2 separate regions of the Homo sapiens genome follow, and region 1 is linked to region 2. The links are contacts of gene promoters, found by promoter capture Hi-C in blood cells and fetal thymus (Javierre and others, 2016). All regions are on one chromosome and are shown on one strand. Each heading gives the region's core, a stretch centred on a gene start or on the middle of the fragment in contact. The rest is flanking DNA. Distances are from core to core; before and after follow the strand shown. Region 1 has its middle 5.6 kb from the start of SLC35B4. Region 2 holds the start of EXOC4 (exocyst complex component 4).

Region 1 (2,700 bases), core at 120-2,619, 1.1 Mb after region 2:
TCGAACTCCTGACCTCAGGTGATCCACCTGCCTCAGCCTCCCAAAATGCAGGGATTGCAGGGATTACAGGGATGAGCTACTGCTCCTGGCTGCTTTTCAATGAACCATTCATGGCTCCCTTCTCTATACCTCCAGCACTCCTCCATACCCCCACTAATCCATTAATCATGTTGCACTGTAGTTATCTGTTTTCATGTTGGTCTCCCCCTCTAGACTAAGCCTTTGATGAACAGAATCCACAAATAACTAATTTATCTCTAGATCCTCAGCATCTTACATGGTGACTGGTACATAATATGTGCATATACCTTCTATTCAATGACTGAATGAATCAGCTTGAAGTAGTCAAATAATTCACACCTCATGAATACATGATATTTTTCAGCTTGACTAATTTTAACAATGTAAACATCAAAAATGTACTGCTCAGTGAATTTGCATGAACAGTGGTGTATAACCAATACTCAGGTTAGGAAATAAATGAGTACCAGCATTCCAGCAGCTCCTGTGCCCCATTCCAATCACTAACCCCCTCCAAGGGCAAGCACTATTCTGACTTTCTAGCACCAAAGATAAGTTTGGTCTGCTTTTGCACTTTACATAAATGGAATCATGCAGTATATTTCTTTTGTTTCTTCTTTTTTTTTTCTCAACATTATGTTGTCAGTTCAGCTACATTTCTTTGTGTATTTGTAGCTCATTTATTCTTACTGCTGCATAACATTTCCTTGTATGAATATACGACAACTTATTTGTTCTCTGGTGATGGACAATTTGGCTATTATTAATAGTGCTACTGTGAAATATCTTGTACATATCTTTTGTACATTTCTATTGGATATCAGCGTATCAATTAAGGTCCAGTCAGGAGGCAAAAATTGTATAGTAATTTGAACAAAGAAAGCTTAATATAAAGAATTATTAACTAGTAGTATTAACTAGAAGATAAACTACTATAAAGGATTAAAAGAACTCCCCAAATTATGGGAATAGCAGATACAAGGAGTAGCCACTACATAAGACTGAGTCAGACTACCCAAGAAAAGAACATATTTGGAAAAGGGCCCTCTCCCCTCCTCCCCAAATGGAGATTCAGACCTCATTGAAGGGGGTAGTGCTGCAGTCCTCTGGCTAGCAGAGAAGTTCAGTGAGGTGCTGATGAAACTCACCTAGGGTCATCCTCTGGGGTCCAGGTAGGGCACTGGTCAGCTCATTGAGAAGCTGCTGGTGGAAGTTTTGTACTTGCTAGGAAGCTGGGTGGAGCTCTGGCAGAATTTTCTGGATACCAGCTGTGAGGATACTAGTTAGTCCACCAGGGTGAATTCCCCAGGGTATCCTACATGCTGGCTGAGCACTGCATGAGCAACATGGAAGAAAGCACACCAGAACCAGAACTCCTCCCTCAGTGTCCCTGCAGCCCCCTCTGTGACAAAGCTCCACACTGTGCTCCCCATCAGAGGAGAAACGTCCACAGGGTCAAGCTCCAGCATCCCAAACAAGGCCATGAAGGGTGGATTTGGAGTGGAGAGGCCATAAATTGACAACTAGAACATCCAAGAGTTTTTTTGGGGGTCATGCCGACTTCAACATTTTGTTTTATCATAAAACCAAAGTTATGAAGTATAGCTATGATTTCATCTCACAGATCTTTTTTTCTTCTTTTATTACCCTGAGTTCAGAATTCTAACATTTTTGAATGAATAGCAACTTCTTAGACACCAGCTGTGCTCAACATGTTTAAACCTCTTCACAGTCCTCTTACCTTATAAAGAAGGATCTATCACTTTGGGAATGTTCATTGTCTTTGACCTAGTGTTGTCAGTGGGAAAAGCTGTCAAGCTTGTTCTAAAAGCCATTTTTGTTTCTAGTTCTAGACACTCAGACACATTTTGAATCATTTGTAAAATTCACTTAAACAACTTGTTGACAAAAAATTAAATAATATACCTCTGATGGAATACTGCCTGATAAGTCTCAAATTGCCAATCCTACAGAGATCTGTCATTTGATTTTTTAAAACATCTTTTCTATATCTATCATATGATGATTATTTTCTCATCTTTGCATTATGTAAATCTTGAGATATTTAGAGCTGTGCACTATAAATATACTTCAGATATTATTCATAGAGTCAAAATATTCTTGTTGTTTGTTTCATAGGTCAGATTCAAGCAATGCCCTGGTATATTAATAGACTTATGAATGCTAATATTTTCAAGGGCATTATTTGAAGACATATTTTTTCAGATTACTATAATTTGGGAGTATGACATTTTGGCTAGGAAGAAAACCTTCTTGATCAGAATATTAGTGGCCCAAGGACAAGGGCTTTGTCTTATTAGCCACAGTATCCTCCATATCTGGATGACATCTGGCTTATAGTAGGTGCTCAGTAAGTAACAGCTGGAGGGAAGGAGTGAAGGAAGGAGAGAAAGAAAGAAATAGAAAAAGAAAGAAAGAAGGAGAGAGAGAAAGAAAGAAGAAAGAGAAAGAAAGAAAGAAAAAGCAGGGAAGGAAGGAAGAGGACCTTTCAAAAAACCAGCTACTCTTTAAGGGACTCATAAACAAAACAGGTGAGCGTTTGAAAATGGTACCTGCTATGAGAGAAAGTAAGTACGAATAATTACCTGAAGAAAATTTACAAAGAACTCAAACAACTCAACAAGAAAAAAACCATTATAAAATTGGACAAAAGACATA
Region 2 (2,700 bases), core at 101-2,600:
CTGGCCTCAAGTGGTCTGCTCGGCTCTGCCTCTCAAAAAGTGTTGGGATTACAGGTGTGAGCCATCACACTTGGCCCAAAAATCTTATTTTCTTTAAAAGCCATTAAAATTATGATTTCCAGAAGCTATATGTTATTTCCTCATTTGAATGTTACATAATTTATTTAATTCTTCTGTGTTATTTAAAAAATGTCAATACTCTATATTTCTTTAGGAACAAAGTCCCTAGAACTGGAATTATTGGGCCAAAGGTTATGAATACTTTTAAGTTATCGTGTGTGTGTGTGTGTGTGTGTTATCTTCAACTAATTTTTAAAAATGTGAACTTCTACCAGCTCGATGTCTATTTAATAAAAGTAATTGATGTGTTCTGAGCTTGCTGCTCACAACTCCATGACCTCTGAGTTAGTTTGCTTTCTATTCCTTTAAGTTCTTCAATCTTTATTGCTACTGAGCAGGCCACCTCCTTCCTTACTTTTAAATTATTATTATTCTTGTTCCTCAGTCTAACCACTTTCCACGCACATTCTGGTCTTTTTTGTTTTGTTTTGTTCATTTGGTCTTATGAATTAATGACTAAGCCAACGGAACCAAATGCAGGAAATACTAAAAACTTACCGGTAAAAGTATTAACACAAATGTGCATTACTACTAAGTATTTCATTTAGCTTGAAAAAAAAAAAAAAGGAATCTGCAGTGTGGTCTGTTTGTTTTTAGCTTATACTGTCTTTTCTTCATCAATATTCATTTATTCCTGTACGTGTGGTTTTAGAACTATCTGGAAATATAGGAACATTGGGAAAAATTGAACTCCACATAAACCTAATGTAGAAACATTAGTTTTACAGAATACTAAAGAAAAGCATTTCTGCTTATATTCATTTTCGTATTTTATTGGATTTTTTAAAAAATCACTTGCACTTAAGGCAAAAACTTCGCACATAGACATCCGGCAGAGAACCCCTCTTTCATTTAAATACAAACCCTAACACATTTTGGCATCATCAGATAAATTTGATTTAAAGCCTGACAAAATTCTAAAAGCAAGGAAACTGAAAAAAGCTGGAAGTCAGAATAAAGATAAATGAAGACACTCATTACAAGACTTAGGAAGTTGCAGCTGGTTTAGCTTTCCTGCGCGCCCAGGAGACGGAGAAGGAAAACTACGACTCCCAGAGTGCTTAGAGAGAACACGCGCGTCGTGGCCTCAAAACTTGCTCCCTTAGTCCCGCCTCCTCACTTCAGTGATTGGATTTTCCACTTCCGCGCCTCTGGAATTCTCTTCACCCATTGGTGGAGACTCCTGCGGGGTCAAATACAGAATTTACGCACCCTTGGCTTCCTTGGAGCCTAGCGGCTCTCCCCGCGTCCAAGATGGCGGCAGAAGCAGCTGGTGGGAAATACAGAAGCACAGTCAGCAAAAGCAAAGACCCCTCGGGGCTGCTCATCTCTGTGATCAGGTGAGGGAGGCAGGAGGCAGGGTCTGGGGACTGGGGGCAGCGGCTCGACCTCCGCTTTGGAAGGGAGAAGGGTTAGCTGGGTCCCACCCTGCTCTCCCCTTTCCTCCTTGCCTCCCGCAGCCCCTCCCCAGGGCTCTAACCCCTCCCCAGGGCCCCAGCAATTCCCCCTCCACCTTTTTTTTCTGGGGTTAGCTATAGAGAGAGGAGCCCCGCCTCAGTCTTTTCTTTAGGGGCAGCACCTTCTATTACAGTCTCGGGACCCCAAAGCACGCTATTTGGGTTTGGTAGAGAAAACCAGGTGTAAAGGTGTGTTTATTGATTCCTAAAATGCTTGTTTATTGTTTGCCTGTAGCAGCACTCACTGAGAAAGGCGTCTTGTTTCCTGGACTTTGGGGTGTAAGGCCTTGGAGTCCGGAGATTCCTGTCACGAGTTGCAGATTTGTGTTTTCACACTCTGGATACTTTCAACCACCTGTGCGTGGCCACAGCCACAAATACAAGAATCTGCAGTGAGCTGGTAGGAGGACTGGGTTTGAAGGCACACATCGGTTTTCAATTTTTTGCCCTGCCTCCGCATTCTGGTCCATTCCTTAAAAAACAGAACCAAACCAATTTCAAATTATCCTCCATGCACTGCCCCTCTGCACCTCCCAGAAGATTAGGGTGGGGGTGGAGTGGGAGCGGTGGATCTTTTAGGAGCTTTTTTTTAAAAAAGCGAAATATATTGAGGATGGGGGAACCCTTTCAAGAATCTTGGATATGATGCAGGTACTGACTAAAACCAATCTAAATAAAATTTATTATGGCACGTTTTTTACGTTGTTGGCATTTGAATTTCAACTCGTTTATTTTTCATAAACAAACACTCTATTTTTCCCCACCTATACTAAACTTTTGTTTGAGTTCTTGCAAGTTTTCTGGAATGTATTGATCATCTTTTCAAAACCCAGGGCCCAACATTATCTGGTAGGTACTAAGCACTTCAATGAATGCATGTATCAAACCATTAGAACAGCTTACCACTCACTGACAAAGACACATCTTATGGGTCTTATTTAGGAGGCTTTAAGATTATGGCCTATTAAATCATTACTTTAATTTTCTTTTGGGCTTAAGAGAAAAACATCTCTGTGTGGAAATGCTTAATATACTTGGTAGGCCATACAGAGGAAGTGCTGTTGTATTGTGAATCTATAGGCCCACATTCTCGCTGTGACAATACGCAGGTAGTGTAGATGTA

The links. Contacts are between HindIII fragments. The CHiCAGO score rates a contact against its expected background, and 5 or more counts as called.
Region 1: a contact is called between a fragment that was not itself captured here and the fragment with the promoter of EXOC4 in region 2, in 1 of 17 cell types (naive B cells). The highest score is 7.4, in naive B cells.

Annotation. Positions count from the first base shown.
Region 1 is chr7:134,321,191-134,323,890 of GRCh38, forward strand. No RefSeq gene overlaps it. Among named protein-coding and RNA genes, the nearest start is that of SLC35B4, 5.6 kb to the left of the region's middle. The HindIII fragment of the contact is 935 bases long and covers 903-1,837 here.
Region 2 is chr7:133,251,728-133,254,427 of GRCh38, forward strand. EXOC4 (exocyst complex component 4) reads left to right here and starts at 1,351. Exons shown (of 18, transcript NM_021807.4): 1 at 1,351-1,460. The coding sequence starts at 1,375. RefSeq lists enhancers at 1,118-1,167, 1,378-1,437. The HindIII fragment of the contact is 3,927 bases long and covers 1-2,700 here.